6 separate regions of the Homo sapiens genome follow, and regions 1, 2, 3, 4 and 6 are each linked to region 5. The links are contacts of gene promoters, found by promoter capture Hi-C in blood cells and fetal thymus (Javierre and others, 2016). All regions are on one chromosome and are shown on one strand. Each heading gives the region's core, a stretch centred on a gene start or on the middle of the fragment in contact. The rest is flanking DNA. Distances are from core to core; before and after follow the strand shown. Region 1 overlaps OXA1L-DT (OXA1L divergent transcript). Region 2 overlaps TRD-AS1 (TRD antisense RNA 1). Region 3 overlaps TRD-AS1 (TRD antisense RNA 1). Region 4 has its middle 150 kb from the start of TRD-AS1. Region 5 holds the start of LINC02332 (long intergenic non-protein coding RNA 2332). Region 6 overlaps SLC7A7 (solute carrier family 7 member 7).

Region 1 (3,994 bases), core at 639-3,138, 170 kb before region 5:
ATATGGCCTCATGGGAAGGGAAAGACCTGATCGTCCCCCAGCCCGACACCCATAAAGGGTCTGTGCTGAGGAGGATTAGTATAAGAGGAAGGCATGCCTCTTGCAGTTGAGACAAGAGGAAGGCATCTGTCTCCTGCTGGTCCCTGGGCAATGGAATGTCTCGGTATAAAACCCGATTGTACGTTCCATCTACTGAGATAGGGAAAAGCCGCCTTAGGGCTGGAGGTGGGACATGCGGGCAGCAATACTGCTTTGTAAAGCATTGAGATATTTATATGTATGCATATCTAAAAGCACAGCACTTGATTCTTTACCTTGTCTATGATGCAAAGACCTTTGTTCACGTGTTTGTCTGCTGACCCTCTCCCCACTATTGTCTTGTGACTGTGACACATCCCCCTCTCGGAGAAACACCCACTAATGATCAATAAATACTAAGGGAACTCAGAGGCTGGCGGGATCCTCCATATGCTGAACGCTGGTTCCCTGGGTCCCCTTATTTCTTTCTCTATACTTTGTCTCTGTGTCTTTTTCTTTTCCAAGTCTCTCGTTCCACCTAACGAGAAACACCCACAGGTGTGGAGGGGCAACCCACCCCTTCAAGCAATGATCCTCCTCATCTTCATAATGCTATTTTTGGCTTTAAAGTCTATTTTACCTAATATTAATAAACGTATGCCGATTTTTTTAGTTAACGTTTTTCTAGTATATATTTTTTCATCCTTTTACCTCCTATAAATAGCTTATAGTTTAGTTTTGAGTTAAAAATTTCATTCTAGGGCCAGGAGGCGTGGTGGCTCACACCTGTTATCCCAGCACAAAGGATTCAAGGCTTACCACATTGACAAGATAAAAAATTAAGCAGGGCAATGGGAAAAAGTAAAAATAAAAGGAAGCTGAGAATGAGGTTATATTAAAGGCGCATGCCATGAGGCTATATACTCTTGCAACCATAGGATCCAAAACTGACAAGCTTCCTAGCAGCCAGCACAGAGAGAAATGTGATCTTGTAATGATTCACAGCACCCATAACATAAAAACAAATCTTTGTCATTTAGGAAAAGACATTACAATTAAATAAAGTTAAAATTTCATTTCCTCAGTTGCACTAGCCACACTTGAGGTACCCAACAGTCACATGTGACTAGGGGCTACCACATTGGATCATGCAGACATAGAACATTTCCATCCTCACAGAAATTTCTATTAGTACAGAAATGGGTGGAGGAAAAGGTGCCAGTAAATGCTTCCTCTTTGTGTTGTCCAGAGTGCTGAATTTCTGGGTGGCCAGGGGGACCTTGCTCTGCTATGGGTTGAAGATTCAGCCTGACCGCTTCTTGTCAAAGTTGGCTCTGGGCCTAGCAAGGCAATCTACTCTGTTCAAAAGTGGATAGAGGGAGAAGCTGGGAGGAACATTACAATTTTTTCTATGAGCCCTCTGTAGAGGGTGGATGATGGGGGTTCCACAGGCTGCTCCTTGGTTTCACAGCCCGTGCCCAGGGGTGCTGGCTTCAAGCCCTTCAGACAAGCAAGATCAGCTCTGCCCCTCCTGCTTCACTTGCCCTGTAGCTGTGGAAGCTACCACTAGGGAGGTCCTGCCTGGGGCCCTGCAGGTGTGGAGCTCAGGTAGGAGCCCTATTCTGGTAACCTCTCAGTAAGGTAACCTCTTACCTTACTGGCCACCCTCCTGGACAATCCTGACTCCTATCCCCTGTTCCCCTGCAGAGCCAGCTGAGCCCCCAGGAACCCCTCCTGCCTCTCACAGCCATCTAGATGCAGCTTCTCTGCCCACAATTGTCCCCTCTAAAGGTAGCACCCAAAGTTAGGGAAAGATTAGGCGGCAACTGGGCTTAGAGACCACCTGCTGTCACTGATTGTCCCCACTGCTGGCTAATTTTTAAAAATTGTTTTAGAGACAGGTTCCTGCTATGTTGCTCAGGCTGGTCTCAAACTCCTGGCCCTAAGTGATCCTCATTCCTCATCCTCTTTTTTTTTTTTTTTTTTGAGAGGGAGTATCGCTCTGTCACCCACGCTAGAGTGCAGTAACACAATCTCGGCTCACTGCAACCTCTGCCTCCCAGGTTCAAGCAATTCTCCTGCCTCAGCCTCCCAAGTAGCTGGGATTACAGGTATATGCCACCACACCTGGCTAATTTTTTAATATTTTTGATAGAGACGGGGTTTCACCATGTTGGCCAGGATGGTCTCAATTTCTTGACCTCACAATCCACCTGCCTCGGCCTCCCAAAGTGCTGGGATTACAGGCGTGAGCCACCATGCTCAGCCTTCCTCATCCTCTTGAGTAGCTGGAATTACAGGTGTGAGCCACTGCACTTAGCTCCTAAACTGACATAGTTTGGATATGTCCCTGCCCAAATCTCATGTTCAATTGTAGTCTCCAGTGTTGGAGGTGGGGCCTGATAGGAGGTGATTGGATCATGGGGGCAGTTTCTCACGGTTTAACACCATCTCCCTTGGTGCTGTCATCACAATAGTGAGTTCTCATGAGATCTGATTGTTTGAAAGTGTGTGGCACCTCCCCCTGCCCTCGGTCCTGCTCCTGCCATGCAAGATGCCTGCTCCTCCTTTGCCTTCCACCATGAATCAAAGCTCCCTGAGGCCTTCCTAGAAGCAGATGCTGCCATGCTTCCTGTACAGCTTGTGGAACTGTGAGCCAATTAAACCTATTTTCTTTATAAATTACCCAGTCTCTGGAATTTCTTTATAGCAGTATGAGAATGGACTAACAAATAAACATTTTAATTTTCTAACTATTTTTTGCTGATATATAAAACAAAGCTTTTTTTTGTGGACTGAACTTGTATCAATTGAAATTATTAATTCCAAGAGCATATCAGTGGTGATAATAATAGCATTATTTCTTCCATTCTCAATACTTAGTCCTTTAATTTCTTTTTCTTGCTATAATGCATTGGATAGCAACTGTAGTACAGTAGAAGTGGGTGATAGCATGGTGATTTATTCCTGATCTCAGAAGGTAATCTTTCAACATTTTACGACAAAGTATGATGTTTGCTATAGGTTTCTATAGTTGCTCTTTAATAGATTACAAATATTTCTTTAACTTAAGAGTGTGATAAAGAGTTATTTCTTTTTTTTATTTTTATTTTTAGAGATGGGGTCTTGCTCTATTTCCCAGGCTGGAGAGAAGTGGCTATTCACAGGCTAGATCTTAGTGAAATACAGCCTTGGACTCCTGGACTCAAGTGATCATGCTGCCTCAGCCTCCCTAGTAGCTAGGACTACAGGTGCAAACCACTGCACCAGCAAAGAACTATTTTTTTTTTTTTGAGATGGAGTCTCACTCTCTCACCAGGCTGGACTGCAGTGGCACAGTCTTGGCTCACTGCAACCTCCAACTCCCAGGTTCAAGCAATTCTCCTGCCTCAGCCTCCCGAGTAGCTGGGACTACAGGTGCATGTCACCATGCCCAGCTAATTTTTGTATTTGTAGTAGAGACAGGGTTTCACCATGTTGGCCAGGATGGTCTCGATCTCCTGACCTCATGATCCACCTGCCTCAGCCTCCCATAGTGCTGGGATTACAGGCGTGAGCCACCATGCCTGCAAGATGCATTATTTTTTTTGTGTATCATTTCATTCAGTATGCTGATATTTAGGATTTTTGTAGCTATGTTTGTGAGAAAGATTCGTTTGTAATTTTTCTTTACTGTCATGTCCTTTTCAGTTTTGATATCAAGGTTTTGTTAGCCTCTTAAAATGATTTGGAAAGTGGTTTTTACTTTTTTCAGGTCTACATTCTCCCAGTTTCAAGTTCAGAGAGAGAGAGAGCCTCTCTCCCATCAGTTCTCATAAGTGTCTCTGAATTGACTCATTTCGTCTCATTGGCCTGATTAGATGGTTGTGAGGCCATCCCTAAGCCAATAACCATGGTCGTGCTCTGATTCATTGAGAATGAAGTCAGTGCCACCTGGGCTACATAGACTGAGAATGGAAAGGGGCTTTCTTGAGAA
Region 2 (3,923 bases), core at 1,005-3,504, 140 kb after region 5:
GCAAGAGCAAAGGTGGCTTCCATATTGGAGGGTGGATGCAGGACTTACATTCCCAGGTTAGTGGAGGAAAGACTCATCTAAGCTTTCTTAAGTTCCCCAGTGTGACTGGGAACAGACTGCCCTGAAAAAAATTCAGATAGGAGCAGATGAAGTTTCTTGACCCCATAGTAGTTGCTCTCCCCACCCACCTCTGCCTCGCCTCACTTTGCACAACTGCCCATCCTGCCTACTGCTCTTGGAGGACTATTAGCAAGTATTCAAGGTGGTCACATTCTTTGATGTTACACATTATATCATCAGCAACCCTGTCCCCCAGCAGAACATAATGCTGTCTGCTGTCTATAGCTCTTTGAAAGTTGCCAAGGTCAATCTGTTTGGACTTAAATACTTGACCTTTTTCTATCAGGCTGCTTAGTTCTTGGCACATCCTATAAAACCTAGTCATTCTTACTATATGCCAGGCCCTGAGGATTCAGGGTCTGCCATTGATGAATGGCAGACACAGTGTTTTCTTTCATGGAGCTTATGTTCTAGCATGAGAGCCAGTCATCACTTAATAATTTGCATAATTTATCCCTCCATTGCAGCTATAAATATTCTGCAGAAGCAGAAGGACTATGGGAGCATGTTACAGAGGCCAGGTTTGGTCAGGAGGTCAGGGAAGGCTTCCCTGAAGAGGAAGTGGCATTGCAGTTGAGACTGAGTCTGTTTGCCTCTGCACATCCACTCTACTTCTTACTCTGAGCCTGACCTTAATTGGCAGCATCCACCGGCTCTCCATCCCATTTGGTTTGGCCAATGGAGACACCTTCAGGAGACTGGAGGGAAGGAGGAGAGTGCCTTCCTTCACTGGAAGCTATAACTCCTCTTCCACAGCTGCAGGTTTCAGTAAAGGCTCCTCCCCTACACGCTTCAGGCCTGGCATGGCAGCGGTTCTTTGTTGCCAGCCCTGGGTGTTTCACCACCTTCTTTTTGGTTTCCCATAACCCTTCTGTATTAATTTCCTGTAGCTGCCTTAACAAAGTACCACAAACTGGGTAGTTAAAACAATATAAACGTATTGTTTCACAGTTCTGGAAGCTGAAAGTTTGAAATCAAGGTGTCAGCAGGGCCATGCACCCTCTGAAACCTGTAGGGGAATCCTTCCTCACCTCTTCCTAGATTTTGGTGGTTTGCTGGAAACTCTGATGGTCTTTGGCTTGGCTCGCACCTGTATCACTCCAGTCTCCGCCTGCACTGTCTCATGGTTTTCTCTCCCTGCGTGTCTTTGTCTTCACTTGGCTGTCATATAGAATGCCAGTCATATTGCATTAGGGGCCCACCATACTCCAGTATGAACTCATTTAAGGTAACTACATCTGCAGTGACCCTATTTCCAAATAAGATCACATTCTAAGGTACTGAGAGTTAATGTGTCCCTTGGGGGACACATTTCAATCCATAACACCTGTCCACAGCTTTGTAAAAGTCCCTTTCATTAAACTCTCTCTAATCACTCCGAGAGTGCCCTGTCTCCTGCTTGGACCCTGCCTGAAACAGGTATGGGGCATGGGTGGGGAAATAACATTCTATGTAACAAATGAGGACATGTATTAAAAAAGCCTTGAGGCAGAAAGAAGTATAGAGGGTTTAAAGCTGTATTAATATCAAAAGAGTAGTTAGCAGGGCTCAAATAAGCCTGTCTTTCTAGAAAATTATTGTTGAACTATCTCAAATTATTCAGGAAGTCATTTTGAAAAGTCCCAAGAATGTGTATTATGTTTATGACTGTGATTTATATCTTCCACCGGTTAGAGGGAATTTTAAGAATTTATTGCTAATGGCCAAAAACAACCTTCCTCTAGGCCTGACTAAGAGAGAAAGCTGGTATGAACAATAAATCAAAGCCAGAGGTAGAAGACAGTACAGGAGAGGACAGGTGATGATGCGGCGGGAGCTTGGGGCAGAGTGTGGCTAGTGCTTCACCAGGTCAGGAGCAGTCAGCTTGGCCTGGGCCTGTGGCAGGACAAGATGGAACTTCAACAAAAACACAGCCTGTCTCAGGGTGCCCAGGTGGAAGGCAGAAACATCCACCAGGGCTCTGCCCTCAGACCCAACCCTCCTCCGGCCCTGTGTAGGCTGTGTTCTTTGTGCTCAGTCATTCCTTCGTGTCAAGGCCAGCAATTAGGCCACAGCTTCCTTGGTCCTGCCAAGGGGATGTCTGTCCCTTCATGTGATTTCTAGAAAAAACTAATTTTTTTATACTCCGTAAAATGGGAGAAGATAACTCATAGGATTTCTGTGAGAAATAAATGAAATTATACTTGTAAACACTTGGCTCATTGCTTAACGATGTTAATTTTCTCTTTGTCATACAAATAATGATACCTGAGACTTGAACAGTTAGTAGGAGAGGCAAGAGTGTTTTTGGGGGCTTTATCCATTCTCCCCCATAATCTCCATCTCTCCAGAATGGAAGGTTTCCCATTCTTTGATGTCTTTCCCAATCTTATGTGCTATGAAAATACAGCCTCAAGGCAAGTTCCTGAGGCATCTTCCAACCAGGTTGCTGTCCTTAGCCTTTCCTCTGCAGAAACTCAGAAGCTGCTATTGCATATTGTGTTGTATGATTTGTAAATGCTGCCTCACGCGTGTGATTTAGTCTGTTCTTATCTCTGGTGTAATCTCCCAAAAGCACCCGTTGAACCCATACTGGTCTTCAAAAATTCTTATTGAAGTGAAATAATTTCTTCTGCCCACAGGATGTCTGATCTGAAAGCATGTTGTGGTCCGCTACACACAAGAGCAAAAGAAGAGCAGGAAGGAGCTCAGTGCCAAGACCATAGCCACAGGAAGAAAACCAGCTCTTAGGGCTGCAGCTCTAAAGACAGGCCAGGTCATTACAGGAACGTCTGCTCCCTTAGCCTTGCCAGACAGAGGAGGGTTAAGAAAGGAACTGCTGACCCTGATATGCAAACTGCCACGAGTGCTTCCTGCCTTTCTATCAGCATCAGATGGCTAGCGATGGATGGCTGTAAGATTGATGTAATTAACATTTTATTTTCAGGGCCACAGTGCTGGTTGGGTGCACCAGACAAATCAACCAACAGATTAAAGAGTGATGGAGAAAGCTGTGTTTTGGGCCTCATTTGGGAACAGAATGGAAGAGCTGAGGGTGGAAGGGACCTCAGCAAGTCTTCTGATCCATGTTTCAACCTTCATTTCCCCGATAACCTCAAGGAGAGAGTTGCTTTTCCTGTTCTTCAAATGAGTTCCTTGAATTCACACTCTATTTCTTTGAATTTGCACAGACTGTTGAGGAACAGGCGGCAGGGTCACTCTACCTCTGCTCAGACAAGCCTGGAAAAGAAAAATTTTACATAGAAGACTGAGCTGGAAGAGGCCTGGGAACTTGGGAATTCCCACTTCCACACTGCCCACTCTAGTTCTCAAGAGGCGGCAGCTATGCTGCAGTACAGACCACTGAATTTAGATTCAGGAATCTGGGTTTATATCTCACTCCTCCTCTTACTTGCAAGTCACTTACCACACCAGGCCTCGGTTTCCTGGACAATAAAATGGGGATAACGTTGCCCCATGTGGTTGTTGGTGGTCATGAAATTATGCACACGAGCACGCCTTGTAATCTAGGTTAGACCTGCACTAACCTAGATTAGCTGACCAGGGTGGAAGGTGGGAGGGGCAGGCTTCAGTGTGTGACTTACCTAGAGGCCAAGGGGAGTCACCATGGATAGGGCAGCACTTGTAAGTCCTCTGCTCTCTCAATGTGGCTCTGAGAATCTCCAGGAAGAACTGGCTGGTTGAATTCTCAACTCTACCAAGAAAGGTGTGCTGGAGACCAGGGTCATAGACGTCTCCTTGTTGATGTACGAAAATCAGGAAGCCGTCTCGGGTCCTCTTTACCAGGACATAGTGTAATTATT
Region 3 (3,652 bases), core at 306-2,805, 160 kb after region 5:
TATTAGGAACTCACAGATATTTGCTAGTCCAGGCAGGATTTCTAGACGCCCCAACTCTCAAGGAACCAAGAGGGTTGGTTGCTTATCTAGTGAAGACTGAGATTAGGAAAGAATTTGCCAGCAACTCAGGATAAAACATGGGAAATCCAGGTCTTTTATCCACTGTTTTAGGTGCAGGGAGAAGTGGGGCACTCTGCAGCAGGTGGTACCTCCCACTTGGATAGAACCTGCTAGGTACCTAGAGCAAGGTGCCTCCCACTTGGATAGAACCTGCTTGTAATAGCTTGTGGCTCACTGCCTAGGTGGTATCAGTGCCCATATTACCTACATGTAAATGGAGCACTGACTTTGCAGGTCTACTAGCCCATGGTTTTGAATCTTGCTTTGTGACTTACCAGTAGCGGGACAAATTACAACTCTGAGTCTTGATTTCCTTATTTGCAAATGGGGTAATTATAGTTACCTTGCAGGGATGCTGTGAGGTTGAAATGAGAGAACACTTGTGAAGGGCTTATTCCTGTGCCAGGTACTCATTTGTAAGCCCTCCACAGATATTGGCTTCTTTGCCTTGTCTTTTCTTCTTTGCCATGGTGGGGTTAGTGACCTGGTCATAGCCCCCTGCCTGAGCCATAGTTACCAGGAGAGACACAGAACTTGTTATTTCAAGGCTGGCACAGAACATTCCTCTGAGGGAAACAGCAGTCTGTTGAGCCATGTTAGGCTGCCGTAGGACTTGGGTAGATAAATGAATGAGCTGAGTGGAGCCGTGTCAGAGACATATGGGCAGTATCAATCTACTGTGCCCTTTGGCAAAGGACTGTCTCTGGCAGCTTAGGATGGAAGACACATAAAAGTTAGACCCCAGTCTTCTTTGTCTATACAGGATAAAGAAAGGATGGGAGGACTTTAAGAAGAGAAAAGATGCCAAGGTCAAATCAAATTAACCCCATATCGGCTACTATGCGTGCCCAGTTTAATGCCATTCTCTGATGGTCTCTGCCACTCTGGGGTCTTTGATATAAAATATTTACCCATAGTATTACTTCAATATAAATGGGAGTCAGTGCCAGAACTTCTGATTTTCTCACTCATTGGAAGTTTTAGAACTATTTTTCCTTTGATTTGAGAATACATTCATTCTTTCCCTATCCTCTTTGAGTTTTATGGGTGAAAAAAAGATAAATTTGGCAAAGAAAAGCCCTTTCCTTGCTTTATCTCTTATTCGTAACCCTCAAACTCCTCACCTAAAGCCTTAGTAATGGCAAAGTCTTTCCCTGATGGGTGCCCAGGATTCACCTCTACCTAGGCAGAGTGCTTATCAGCTGTTTCTCCTGTTCCTAATTGCTTTCTTTGCTTTATGGTTTCTCTGCTGTGTCTCCAGCTGGTTGGACAAGCAACTGAAGAACAGGAACAGAAGTGAATGAAAAGAGAAGATGCTGTGTTTGTGTTTTCTCTTGGTTAGAATGCTGTGAGTCAGGACCTTAGCTGCTGGGTGTCCTGGGACTGCCTTCGGTAAGTAAACGATTCTTCTTCTCAGTCTAGCTGATTTGGGCTCAGAATGCTCAGATGGCTGGAATTAACTTTGTTTCTCTGATTTGTTCTACTGAAATGTCTGGGCCTCACTGGATGTTTTAAAACAACATAAGATATTTTTGGAAATTAGTGAGGAATTTCAATGGGTGTCAGGAAAAATCACAGTGTCATTTGTCTCTAAAAAAATTTTGGCTGCCAATAGTCCATCTGTGACTCACTTTCCCAGCTGTGTGCCACCAAAGGAAGCAGCTGCTGAGCAAAACAGCATAGAAGCAAGTGGGGCCTTTCTCGAGTTGTAATTCTGCTTCTGTTACTGACTTGGGAACTTGGGATGTAAATAAACAAACTTTTTCATATCTAGTCTCAGCTCAGGATTTAATTCCTTTAGCATGTCTTCTTGGCTCCCATCACCTAACTCATCCTGAAATTGAAATATTCTAATTTCAATCTGTACTTTCCTCCTGGAACACCCCCATAATTATTACAACCAAGTATTTCTCTTGTTTCCACAAGCATCTGATTTGGGTCCTCTATTAGACTGTAAGCCCTGCTACGGTATGAGTTACACAGTGGAAGAAGGCTTGGATCTTGGCATGGGATACAGCACATAGCAAACACTAATATATACATGATTGAATACAAAAATGCCACTTCTGTACCCTGAGATTTATGGATACTTGATGAACACTTGTTAGCTAGTTAAACCTTCTTGCTCACTTTTTCTTCTATGACTGTCCTCCAAGGCTTGCATGGGGAGATTGGAGGGCTCCCAGTTCGATTATGAGATGGTTGGGGCAGAGACTCTCAAATATTCCATCGACTCCACCATAATTTTTGCTTTGCTTCTTATGGATCATTACCACAAAACCTGCCCCTGGGCAGTGCTCACCAATCAATGCATGGTTCTGTAATGACTTTGTTCTTCTACCCCTAAACTTTTCTTTACCTTCAGTAGAAGCTGGTTTTGAAAAAGAAGAAAGACAATTTCTCCCACTGGGACTTTTAGCATGGAGTAATGAATGACAGAATCAGAGATGTGAATGACAGATAGAGCTGCATTTCCCTATTGCATGTGACGTGGCATTAGTCTTTGAATGTTGGCTCTCGGAGGAATTACTAAGTAGTTCCTTACTGGCAGAGTATACAGCAGGGTTACCAGAGTTGTAAGTGTCCTGTAGGAAACCTGAGTGCCCCATGTTAACATTCAGCAGTTCTGGCTCTGAGGTGCCCTGGGGAAGGGCAAGCTCAGGAGGAATAGGGACTCAGTCACTCACCAAATATCCCCGAGTCTCTGCCTGTCCCATGAGGGTTAAGACTTTGAAATCTGACCCCAAAACCAAATTTTACAAAGGATCCTTCCCCAACTCTTTATTCCAAGAAGAATTTCCCATTTTGTGTTATCCCATGTCCCTGAAGGGCTGTTCTTGGGGGGCTAACCGTGCTGATAAACCCATATGTTGGCTGCAAATGAGAAAGCTAGCAAGATAGCAGGGGATTTGTGTTCCCACTAATGAATAAAACACAGAATCCGAATTAGCAGGAGACCCTGCGTCTTCAGAAAAGAAAACAGAGAAGACAGTCCTCACTTACCCCCAGTTCTCAGCTCAGCAGTTCACACCATCGAGTTTCCATGGCTGGGGCCTTGAATAAGCAGAGGCTGAAGTGGAGGTGTCTTTTAGAGCCTCCTCACTTCTGGAGTCTTGGACTGATCCTGACTTCCCAGTTTTTGAGGATGACACAACGTCAGGCATACTGTGACTTTGACTTGATTTGTTATCTTCTTGGAGGTGGAAACTTTTTCAGGTCATCTACTATGCCTTTTATGTTGATAGAACAAATATTTTACTTCAAAAATATGTGCATAAACAACTTTAATTTTACTTTTGGCTTTAAATTTATACATTATTCCACTATTCTATTCATTTAATGAGTGGGGTTACTGTTGTATTTTAATATCTCGCAAAGCCTATATTTGCTTATTTTATGATGGTCAAGCAGAAATTACTTTCCTCTGTTTTTTTTTTTTCTACATAGGAAGCCCTCAATAATTTATTGCCATCCAGGAAAAAGGTCCTGAAGGCCTTTTGAATTGTATTTCTCTGAATTTCCATTGATATTT
Region 4 (3,532 bases), core at 326-2,825, 230 kb after region 5:
GTGTGCCATAGGGCGAAGTATTTAACCTCCTTGTGCCTCAGCTTCTACAAACCTGGCTAATAACCAGAGTTCTTATGAGAATTAAATTAGTTAATATATGTAGAACACTCAGAACAGAAACCAGTTAGTAGTAAGAACTAGACAATTACTAATTATTATTATTGTTAGGTGTTGCCAGCCTGTGTGTTAGAAATATTTTAACGTGATGATCTCATATATGTGTATGTTCTAAGCAACATGTGTAATCATTGAAACGTAGGCATTTAATTACCTTGTGACTTGCCTACTTTATTACCAGTAGACTTGCCTACTTTTAACTTTTAAAAAACTTTCTTGATATACTTGATTCACTGTTAAGGCATTATATGAACAAAACTTCTTTTATTCATATAGAGTTGCTCAATACAAAATGTAGCTACCCAGAGTTAGCCAAACTGCAAGGTTAAGGTCATAGACCTCCAGACTAAATCTACATAAGACTTCTGCCCCCAACTGTAAGTCGCTAGGACTCAACTACAAAGGGGAGATAAGTTCATGCAAGACCACTCTCACTACTGGCACCAATGGCAAGGTTGGGTATTTCCTAAATCAGGTTCCATAATTCACTAGAAAGACTCATAGAACTCATTGAAACCTAGTATACTTGTGATTCGTTTATTACAGAGAAAGGATACATTAAAAGCAGCCAAGGGATGAGATGCATAGGGCAGAGTCTGGTAGGGTTCCAAACGTGAAACTTCCACTGTCCTCAGGGATGAGTTACCCTCCCAGCATCAAGGCGTGACAATACCCATGGAATATTGCCAGTCTGGAAAACTCAGCTGAGCTTTGGTGTCCAGAGTTTTTATTGGGGCTTCATTATATCAGATGACTGATAGCCTGTGTGGTTGAACTCACTCTCTAGGTTGTGACACAAACCCTCCACCCTATGTTATATGGTTGGTCTTTCTGGCATGGCCAGCCCCCATCCTGAGACCATTGATTGTGGCCAGCCTCACAATGAGTCATCTTGATAGCAGAAACTATTAAGTGCGGTCCAAGGACCCCACCATCAATTATAAAGACATGCCAACAATTCAGGAAATTCCGAGCCTTCAGAGGTTATCTCCCAGGAACTGGGACAAAGACCAGACCTGACTTTGGGTAAGGCTAAATTTCTTGCTACACGTTAGTAGAAGAATCAGCAAATTCCAGTGTCAGGAATCTAAGTGTTCCCATTGTTCTACAGTGCCTGGTTCACTCTGATCTGTCACCTCAGCCTGGAACCTCAAGTTTGGAGGTGATTGGTCTAATGCTGCTGCTGTGCCCACTGTGTATACAGGCATCCTCTGCAGTTTTCCATGTTGATACCTGCTTTTATGTGAATTCTGTTTTTAAAGTCTTCATTTTTTATCTCCAGTCATATTGGACTACAGCCTCAGTTCCAAAAGCACTGCTTCATATGTTTTCAATCCTCTCCAGTCAGTGTTTGAATTAATGGGATTGTCACTAGGAACATCTACACTTGAGGGACAGCCCAACACAAAGTAAGATACATGTCTGATGGCTCAGATTCATTCACTCATCACTATTTGTCATACTCCTTTGTGCCAGGCACTATTCTGAACACAGAGCATTTAGTGGAACTTAGAGGTTAATAGGAAGGACAGATATTATACAAATAATCACACAGAAATACATAGAAATTACAGGGTTCTTTAAAACAGTAACACGAGGGGAACAAATTTAGGTTGAGGGGCAGAGAAGTGTTCATTGAGGAAGAGACATTTCATCAAGATTTAAAGAAGGATAAATATTAGCCAAGTGACTGGAAACCGTGATTTGATTTGAACTGGTAAGAACAACATGATGTGGGCTCTGAGTTTAGTCTGCACTGCTTCCCCACTCCCATGAAATGAGGAAAATATTTCTTAACTAAACTAGAAATTCAATGGCCCTTTTAATCCAAGGTCCTTACTAGCTCTGAAGGTTAGAAAGAAACCTAGTGAAGTAATGAAGAAACATTCCAAGAGACAATTTTGGAGAGTTTTCGGTATATCTCATGCCTGCGTCTGCAGCAACTGGAGACTCTTTTCTATCTTTTAGGATTTCCAAGCAAAGGAACCAGAAATCACTATAAACATGAAGTCATCCTCATTGGAATGAGCCAAGTGTACTGCAGTGAAAAAGTGAACCAGGTCTGATACTCAGCTTAAAGGATGCTGGAATGAAAGCTGTGGTGGGTCTCAGACTAAACACTGTGAGATATCTGTGTGCTAAGGGACAAGAAAGAAAGGAAATCGCTTTACCTAGTGTAAGCAGATCAGGATTTGGGGAGGCAGAAGGCTCATAGAATCATTGGGCAGACTGGAGAAAAAGATTCTAGGCTCGACTTCCAGGAGTGATGCCCAGAACCACCCATCCATCAGCCTCATAAGAAGGCTGCAGTCCTATCCCTATGCCAGCTGCCTCCAGTGCTGCCAGCAACAGAATATGCAGCCAAATGGGCCCAAACAGGAAGTTACTGCTCCTGGCCCAATCAAGAAGATGCTGTTGCTGCCTAACCCAGACCACATGGCCTCCACTGCCCCTAAACCAAGAAAAGGGATGCCCCTGCCTAACCTGTTCCTCATATGGCTCATCTCCCAATCAAATACTTGGCTGAATACAGATCTGCACCTTAGCTGCAAGGGAGCCTGGAAAATGTAGTTCGCAAGGCAATAGTCACAGCACTTGGAAGGATAAATGTAGAGATGGTGTTTGAATCCTTTCTGGAAGTGATTAATGACAACTGTTCACTAAAAAAGAATGCCTGGAGAGACACGACAGTAATTATAGGGATAACAGAAATATTCTTAAGAATTAGGAGTCCTCAGCCCTAGAAGATGAAAAATGCGATGAAATATGTGAAAGTATTTAAATGGTCACAAGAGAGAGTGAAATGAACTTTATAACAGTAGAAACTGAGGTTTGAAGTTGGTGAAAGTATAAAGACTTTATATCATACTAAGCCACATTCGTACAGGTGTCAGCATAGTTTGAATTTATCATACTTCGACATTATATGTAAATGAGTTCAGGAATGAGAAATAAAAACTAGTTTTTAAGGGCAATTTTATTACTGACAACAGAAAAAAAACCCTAGGTTTACCAAAAACTTTGGTCATGCCATATGGGTGATACTTATTCTTGTCTTTACTTTTTTTTTTGAGACGAAGTCTTGTTCTGTTGCTCAGGCTGGAGTGCAGTGACGTGATCTCCACTCACTGCAACTTCCGCCTCCCATGATCAAGTGATTCTCCTGCCTCAGCCTCTGGAATAGCTGCAATTACAGGCATGTGCCACCACACCCAACTACTTCTTTGTAGTTTTAGTAGAGACAGGGTTTCATCATGTTGGTCAAGCTGGTCTCAAACTTTTGACCTCAGGTAATCTGCCCACCTCTGCCTCCTAAAGGACCAGAATTACAGACGTGAGCCACCGCACCTGGTCTCTTGCCTTTACTCTTTATCTAAGCCAGACAGGCTATTCATATATTGTTTCCTCAATATGT
Region 5 (4,093 bases), core at 1,051-3,550:
TCCAGATAAGGATGTCGTTCCACCCATTTCCCTTGGTAAATCACTGGAATAACTTGGGTCAGCAAGGATAAGGTGGACACCTTAGAGGTTGGTAAAAATAGAATCTTGCAGCCTCCACTGGAAAGAAGTCCCTTTTAAGGTTTACCTACTTTCCTCCCATCAAGGCTGGAAGCATGAAATGGAGACCAGGTGCTCCCCATTATGTAAACCATATTCCTTCATCTACCTAGACTCTCTTAGGTCCTGCCAGCCTTGTCTTCTTACACTTATATGATCTTCCTCTAATATTTTCCTTTTTTGTTGTTGTTGTTGCTAAATTTCATGTGGGTGGTTCGGGGAAAGGGTAGACTTGCACTCCTCCCCACTAATCAGTGGGATTTTAGGAAGGCTTTGAAAATGGGAAGGATCCTCCCCTCAGATCCTATCACCTTTGGAATGGGAACATGCCCACATTTCCAGAGCGAACAGACACTGGAGTCCTCTCTTCTCAAAGGTGGCGAACCGTCCTGGAGTGACGTGGGGTGTTCTGGCCTGCGAGGAGATGGCTGCCCGCAGAACCTGCCCGCTGGAGGGCGCTGCAGAGGTCTGGCTCCGTGCTTTCAGATGTGTTCGGCCAGGGGCTCCAGGGGCTCCTTCTGAAAGCAGAGAAGCCCCCAGAGGTTGAGAGGGGAGATAAGACGTGAGCCTTTTCAGCTGTGATGTGGTGAGGAGTCAGGGAGGCCGTGAGCACTGTGGGGCCAGAAGTGTTGGCTTCTGTCAGAAACTCGGCCCAGCCTGACCGCTGCCTCCTGGCCCTGTCATTTCCCCTCCATCACGCGCTTCCTTCTGGAAGCCGGAAGCAGGAGGTGGGAAGCTGCGGAGGTAGTGACAAAATCATGGTGTAACAAGAAGCTCCTAGGGCCGAAGTGACTGGAGAGGTGGCCACATACTATGAGAAACACCAGCGCACCGGCAGGGCCTGGGGAGTTCTGAGCTCTCCCGGGCTGTGTGAAGCCGCAGCCAGCCCACTTTTTTCTCAGTATGGCAGTGCCATCTGACCTGGCCCAGCCCATCTTGTTCGGGTCATGGTTCGTCTTCCTGGGCATTCTGATGCATTCCCACTTCATATTTGCACTGGGATTTCAGTTTACTAAGCATTCCACACCCATTACTGCTTTCAATCCCTTCAACAACACTGAGAATAGGTGGGCAGGTATTTTTATCTCTATGTGAATAATAACACATGGGGACTCAGAAAAATTAAAGGCCCCAGGAGAGAAGGCTAGTGAGGGGCAGTGACGCTTAGGGACAAACAACTGGTTCTCCTGCCTCCTGCCTGAGGACTCCTGCCTGAGGAGAATATAGTAACAAAAGCCTCTGTCTTGCAATTGCAGCCATTAACACATCTCTTTCATACCCACTACTCACTGGACTGTTAACTCCTTGAAGACAGAAACTCTGTGTGTGTGTGTGTGTGTGTGTGTGTGTGTATTTAATGGGAGCAGTACTTTCTTGAGGCATAATTACATGAAAATACACTAATGATGCATTTGATATATATATAGCCATCACCCAAGATAAAGATATGGAACATTTCCACCACCCCTGAAGGTTTCCTCGTGCCCCTTTTCAATCCATCCTTCTACCCCAGAGGCAAACAGTGCCCTAATTTCTATCACCTGTGATGCGTTTTGCCTGTTCTTGGACTTCATCTGTATGGAGTCATAGTTTGCACAGAGACTGAATCCCCAGAGCACGACACAGCCTGGCACATGGCAGGTATACAATGCCAAAGAAAGCCTGGTTCTTAAACTACCTGTGAGAGAGAGTTCGTCCCACCGGGAAACTGAGGCGGTGGGCGGTTAGTGACCTGCCAAAGGCACGAGTGTATGATGTGGTGGATCCCGGACTCCAGCCAGCCTAATTCCGAACCCAAGGCCTCCTCCGGGCCCCCAGCCCTCCCTGGGCACTTCCTCCAGGGCTCCGGGTGGAGCGGGTCTGACGATCCCGGACGAACAGCGCCCCCTGCTGCCGGCCCAGGCCCCAGGCCCTCCTCTCCTTTGGGGGGGGATGTGACAGGATGACACAGGCCTTGCGCCCAGCGCAGTGACGGGCACAGGGCAGGGACTTGTGGGATAAAAGTCACCTGCCCTTTTATTTTCCTCGGAAAAGAGCTTTTCCTAAACTTTGGGGGCTTTCTATCTCCAGAATTAACAGACAAAGGGAGAAGAGGTCTTTTTGGTGGAGCGCTGCTGCCCCCATGCGGGTGGATGGCGACACTACCGAAGAGCAGGCGATCAAGCCTGGTATTTTTGGGTTTCAGGTTCTGCGGCTCCCTGAGACCAGCAGATTCCTGGTCTCCGGGTCCCTGGGTCCCGGACGTGTCCATCAAGGCGTCCATTAGGGCCATCACCTAATGGACAAGCATCAGGGTAAGGGGGGAGGTGCTATTGGGGGGGGGTCCCTCAGAGAATCAGCCCTAGCTCTGTGTGGGGGCAAATACGGCCTCCCCACCTCCTTCCCTCCCAGGAGACACTGGCCTGAGCATAAGTCTCGAGGGTCTGCCCTGTACTAAGCAAGCGCTTAATCAGGTGAGATCAAGGTCTGATCTTGGCTGGTTTGGAGGGGCAGCAGAGGTGCGGTGAGGGAGGCGGCTCAGCGGTGGGGCCAGCAGCACCTCCCCAGCCTGCTTGCGGGCCCGGTGCAAGTCACCGAGGGGCCGGCAGCCCCTCCCAGCCTGGCATGTTGGCCTTGCTGCACCTGCGGTTGGGGGGTGGTGTAACGGCCCAGCCTGCTCCCCTCGGCACGTGGCCTGGGGCGATGCTATCTCTAACTCAGTATTTTAAACTCTTCTTTCCAGAGGATGTGGCTTCTGCGGGAGAGCTTCAAAGGGTGCCCTACTTGCCCCTCTTGGTAACCATGACGTCATGGAAATGGGAGGGGACCGCCCCAGCCCCCAAACACCTGGAGGGAAGTGGGAGACTTTTTCCACTTCCTGTTCTACTTGTGGCTACTGACTCAATGTCTGACCTGTTTATTAATTGCAAAATATAGCTCTATGTGTGCTACCCAGAGAGGCCTCAGGCCTGTGTGTCTCTGTGTGAAAGGAGGCCTGCACTCCCCACCCCTCGCCGCGTTGCCCAGGTGGCCTTGACACAGACGCAGGGCGCTGGTGGTCCTGCAGCCTTCCGGCAGCCAGAATGACAGCACTGGGTCTCCATGTGCTTGCTCCCCCAGACTCATCCCAGTCAGAAGCTCGTCTTCCCACACATGGCTCACGGAGGTAGATGGGTTTTAGAGTAGGACTCATGGAGAAACTGAGGCGAACCCACATAAAGTGACTGTTGGCTCTGGACCTCAGTGTGGTCACACAGTGAGGTCAGACTCCCAGGTACCCTGCGTGATTTACCACAGTCCCTGTCCTCCAGGCTTTGTTGGATAGATGTGTGCCTGCCTGGGGGCTGCCCTGAGCAAGGGGCCACCACTCAGGCTTTCCTTGTTCTGAAGTTCTTGACAAGTTACTTTAGCTCTTGGCAAAACTGTGAAGCATTGACTCACCTGACCACTTCCTCTACTAATCCCCACTTTCCTTTCTCCTGTACTCCCCACTCCTCACACTCAGCTCCCCCCACCCAGAGCCTAACTGCAGGAGTCATTCACTTATTCATTTAACGGCATCTGTTGTGTGCCAGGCACTGTTCTAGTTCCTGGGGACACATTGATGACAAGGGACATTCCCATCCCACAGAGCACACAGGCCAGGGGACTTCCACACTAGGATGGTACCTGATAATAAGGTGCTATAGGCCTGTCTGTATACGTGATCCCAGGGGAGTTGAATTTTATGTTTGGACCTAAAAAATAAGCAACTCCTTAAGACTCAGATGGCTGCCCCCAGTGAGGGTAGCAGCAGAGGGGTTGCTCTGTCAGAGCTGAAGACCTCACCAGGATGCTCCTGAAGCACGTGCTTGCATAGCCTGCCCTTTCTCCTGAGTGGCTGTGACTCCAGTTGCACTCAGAGGTCAAGTCTTCAAGTGAAGTTTCAGAGAGTCCTCTAGAATCTTAGGGCTGGGGCCACAAGAGCTCATTTAGTCCATTCTTCTGCCTTTGGGAC
Region 6 (3,757 bases), core at 448-2,947, 240 kb before region 5:
GCAAGGGCAGCATACCAGAGGTGGCAGGTTTACACTCAAAAATAGCCTTTCTGGAGGAGCTATTAAGTTTAAAATAAGGAATAAAATGTCATTTGGAATTGGCAACTCAGAGGGTCAAAGGAAAACTTTTGCAGGGTGAAAGAGGAAGGAGTTGCAACATCTCAGACTGCATTGTAGAGACCCAGGAACGGGAAGGAATGTAGACATGCTCTTCAGATGAATGATTCTGAAAGCATGGAGGGTGATTGTTAGAGGAAAGGACCAAGGTTGAGGGACGATTTTATGAAAAAGAGTTAAGCCTGCCTTAGGTTGGTTGAGGTATGTTTCTGGAAAAGTTGGATGAAATATCTCTACCCTACAATGATGCCTTCTCCATGGCTGTAATGATTGGGTGCCCTGAGTCAGACTTCTTTTTCTTGAACAGTGTAGGGGATACCCTTATCCCTTTGGAAGGCACTGGTGCATGGTGGTGAACAGCGTGGAATCAGGCAGGATTCAATCAATGCTAGGTCAAATTTATTAGCCTCAGTTTCCTCTTGTTCTCCTTCTCCTTCTCCTTTTCCTCCTTCTCCTTCTTCTTCTTCTTTTTTTTTGACAGAGTTTCACTCTTGTTGCCCAGTCTGGAGTGCAGTGGCGTAATCTCAGTTTACTGCAACCTCCGCCTCCTGGGTTCAAGCGATTCTCCTGCCTCAGCCTCCCGAGTAGCTGGGATTACAGGTGCCCACCACTATGCCCGGCTAATTTTTTGTATTTTTAGTAGAGATGGGGTTTCACCATGTTGGCCAGGCTAGTCTGAAACTCCTGACCTCAGGTGATCTACCTTCCTCGGCCTCTCAAATTGCTGGGATTACAGGCATGAGCCACCGTGCCCAGCCCTCAGTTCTCTCTTCTATAAAATGGGGTCCCTACCTCATAGAAATGTGATCTATATTTGTACCATATTTTCATCTTTTTCTATTCAAATCATGACAGTTTCCAAAGAGCAAACACAGAGTCTCTGCTCCTGCCAGTTGTTTGCAGTCTTTTGGCAGGCATAGTCTACCTTTAGAGCTGTTGAACTACAGCCCTAGATAGTCTGGTATTACTAATAGACCTTGAAATCATTTACTGGTTATTGCTTAAGTAGGTTTTTTTATACGGGTGGTTGACTTCATTCATTGCTGATTTCATTGTCAGGGTAATAACGTTTTGCCCTCTCTGTCAGGAATATTGCTTCCCCTCCCCCACCCCAGCAGCAGCCTCCATGCACTCAGTCCAGATAACAGTGATCCTGGTGCTTGCCTGCACCCCATTCACTCCTCCAGTGACGTGTGGGTAGATAGGTTGCCTCTCAGTGACTTTCATAGCAACTGATTCTTGTAATTGTCAATGTCCACTTTTGAGTGAAGGCTGGAGACTGGATCTTAATCTCAGAGCCTGCACAGGGCCTGGAACACAGTGGGTACTCAATATAAGCTTAATGAATGAATGAATGAGTGAGTGAGTGAAGGAATTCTGAGTTTTGAAGGAGCCTCACTGTCCTGTCTAGGGTAGTAGAAATGGTTGCTTTTCCCAAACAGAGAGGTGTGCAGATGGCACCTCCTGAAGCTGCTTATTCTGACTTCTTGGAGAAATTCGTGGACTGCCCCAGTGCTCTGAAGTTCTAGGCATCTCCATTACCACAGGGGGAGATAATCCCACTCCCCGTCTCACATTCTTGCATACAGTTAGGGAGGTATGTGGTGTGGTGGAATGGATGTAGGCTTTGGAGCTAGTCACTGCCTGACCTCAGTTTTCTCAAGTGTAAAATAAAGATAATAAAACTTACTCTCTGTCAGATTAAATTAGAAGATAGGTGTAAGTACATAGTGACCTGGCACACAGTTGTCAGTTAAAAATAGTATCTATTACTGCAAGTTATATTCATATCATATGCATCTTATTGATTTCTAAAAGCTTTACCTTCCGCATGCTGTCTTTGGATGACTTAAAAGCAGTTTACATTTTACTTCACAATAGCTCAGGGATCAGAAAGGAGGGCTGAGCCTTTTCTTTCTGTTTTGCAAGAGAGGTGGAACTTTCCTCTCAGCAAGAGGATAGGTGTCCAGAAGTCCAGCTCCACCCGACTGTCCTTTCCTCAGAGCCAAGGTGTTTTGGCCCACTGTTCACAGGTGGACATGACTGTTCTTGCCTTACCTACACTTGCCCACACTGAGACCTAGTTGTTTTGCCATTCAGGACACTACCAGGACATTTTTACCATCTATGCCTTCAGTATGTCCCCTGTACCAGTGAGTCAGCAGTACCTGGCAGTTCAGGGCTCTTTGTTTACAGAGTACTGTTCTTCAGGGATCAGGCAAAGATTCTTCGTGTCATACACATGTGGCCACAGTGAATTGCATGTAGTGGGTTCTTCAATAAATGTTGGCTGGATGAATGAACAGAAGATATGATTCCAGGTTCAACTTGGCTGAGAAGGGTATTTCGTGCTTTTGCCTTTCAGGGTGCTGGTGGGGGCTGAGGGTTGCTGTGGGAAGGGGGCAGACAGCTTACCCTGAGTCTGCCAGAGCCGCTGTGGGCTGTGAAGGACTTTGGATCTCTGTGTGTCTGAGAGCTTTGGCCAGGTGTCCTCGTGCAGCTTCTCCTGGTACCAGAATGACTGATCTCATGTACTTGTGGCTAATGAGGTGGAACAGTCAGATGCTGGGCCCCCCAACGGACTTTTGCCCTTTGAACCTTCTACTTGGAAGCTAGTTGCCTTTTTCAGAGGGCTTTTCCCAAGAGCCATCTGAGGGTGGAGGTGAAGAAACTTACCTTTTCTGGCCCATATTCACCTCAAGAAATAGGCTTTCATCAGAGCCTTGGGTTCTAGTGTGGGTTTGTTGTGAACTTTGGAACAAACTCTTGACCAGCAGTGAAGGGGTAGACCTTTATGCTGCTTTGATCATCAAGTCCCTTTGGGGGCTCATCCTTGCTCTCTTCCTTTCTATGTTCTATGTTTCTATGTTCCTTTCTTTTTCTCTCTGCCTCAGAAGAAGCTGGGCAGGTAGCCTAGAGGAGGTTGCGGAAGATGCTGGGCAGCAGTGGGTCCTAACTCTGGCTGTGGATTGGAATCATCTGGAGAATTAAGAAAACAAGGCCGGGCACGGTGGCTCACGCCTGTAATCCCAGCACTTTGGGAGGCCGAGGCGGGCAGATCACAAGGTCAGGAGATTGAGACCATCCTGGCTAACATGGTGAAACCCGTCTCTACTAAAAATACAAAAAATTAGCTGGGTGTGGTGGCAGGCGCCTGTGGTCCCAGCTACTCGGGAGGCTGAGGCAGGAGAATGGTGTGAACCCGGGAGGCGGAGCTTGCAGTGAGCCGAGATTGCACCACTGCACTCCAGCCTGGGCGACAGAGTGAGACTCTGTCTCAATTAAAAAAGAAAAGAAAAGAAAAGAAAAGAAAAGAAAAGAATAGAAAAGAAAGAAAGAAAGAAAGAAAGAAAGAAAGAAAGAAAGAAAGAAAGAAAGAAAGAAAGCAAGCAAGCAATACTCAGATTGGGCACGGTGGCTCACACCTGTAATCCTAGCATTTTGGGAGACTGAGGTAGGAGGATGGCTTAAGCTCAGGAGACCAGTCTGGAGAACTTGGTCTCTACAAAAAAAAAAAAAAAAAATTAATTGGGCATGGTGGTGCATGCCTGTAGTCCCAGCTACTCAGGTGGCTGAGGTGGGAGGATTGTTTAAGCCCATTTGGTCCAAGCTGCAGTGAGCCAAGATTGTGCCACTGCAT

The links. Contacts are between HindIII fragments. The CHiCAGO score rates a contact against its expected background, and 5 or more counts as called.
Region 1: a fragment that was not itself captured here is called in contact with the fragment with the promoter of LINC02332 in region 5 in 2 of 17 cell types (M0 macrophages and M1 macrophages); the score reaches 5.6 in M0 macrophages.
Region 2: a fragment that was not itself captured here is called in contact with the fragment with the promoter of LINC02332 in region 5 in 1 of 17 cell types (total B cells); the score reaches 6.0 in total B cells.
Region 3: a contact is called between a fragment that was not itself captured here and the fragment with the promoter of LINC02332 in region 5, in 3 of 17 cell types (total B cells, naive B cells and M0 macrophages). The highest score is 9.4, in total B cells.
Region 4: a contact is called between a fragment that was not itself captured here and the fragment with the promoter of LINC02332 in region 5, in 1 of 17 cell types (total B cells). The highest score is 6.0, in total B cells.
Region 6: a contact is called between a fragment that was not itself captured here and the fragment with the promoter of LINC02332 in region 5, in 1 of 17 cell types (erythroblasts). The highest score is 6.1, in erythroblasts.

What each region holds. Positions count from the first base shown.
Region 1 is chr14:22,721,293-22,725,286 of GRCh38, reverse strand. The region is part of intron 1 of OXA1L-DT (OXA1L divergent transcript); the gene reads left to right. It also overlaps the pseudogene LOC100421646. Among named protein-coding and RNA genes, the nearest start is that of OXA1L-DT, 43 kb to the left of the region's middle. The HindIII fragment of the contact is 1,826 bases long and covers 976-2,801 here.
Region 2 is chr14:22,417,754-22,421,676 of GRCh38, reverse strand. The region is part of intron 2 of TRD-AS1 (TRD antisense RNA 1); the gene reads left to right. It also overlaps TRA. Among named protein-coding and RNA genes, the nearest start is that of TRD-AS1, 63 kb to the left of the region's middle. The HindIII fragment of the contact is 4,339 bases long and covers 85-3,923 here.
Region 3 is chr14:22,398,904-22,402,555 of GRCh38, reverse strand. All of the region lies in intron 2 of TRD-AS1 (TRD antisense RNA 1), which reads left to right. It also overlaps TRA. Among named protein-coding and RNA genes, the nearest start is that of TRD-AS1, 82 kb to the left of the region's middle. The HindIII fragment of the contact is 4,583 bases long and covers 1-3,652 here.
Region 4 is chr14:22,327,047-22,330,578 of GRCh38, reverse strand. It overlaps TRA. Among named protein-coding and RNA genes, the nearest start is that of TRD-AS1, 150 kb to the left of the region's middle. The HindIII fragment of the contact is 6,538 bases long and covers 1-3,532 here.
Region 5 is chr14:22,555,269-22,559,361 of GRCh38, reverse strand. LINC02332 (long intergenic non-protein coding RNA 2332) reads left to right here and starts at 2,300. Exons shown (of 3, transcript NR_146543.1): 1 at 2,300-2,411; 2 at 2,509-2,570; 3 at 2,840-3,051. LOC105370399 (a long non-coding RNA gene) reads right to left here and starts at 2,796. Exons shown (of 2, transcript XR_007064066.1): 1 at 1,796-2,796; 2 at 1-635. RefSeq lists enhancers at 1,695-1,904, 2,765-3,104, 3,155-3,254, 3,835-3,964 and a silencer at 2,605-2,654. The HindIII fragment of the contact is 9,123 bases long and covers 1-4,093 here.
Region 6 is chr14:22,795,132-22,798,888 of GRCh38, reverse strand. The region is part of intron 2 of SLC7A7 (solute carrier family 7 member 7); the gene reads left to right. Among named protein-coding and RNA genes, the nearest start is that of SLC7A7, 18 kb to the left of the region's middle. RefSeq lists an enhancer at 2,306-2,375. The HindIII fragment of the contact is 480 bases long and covers 1,458-1,937 here.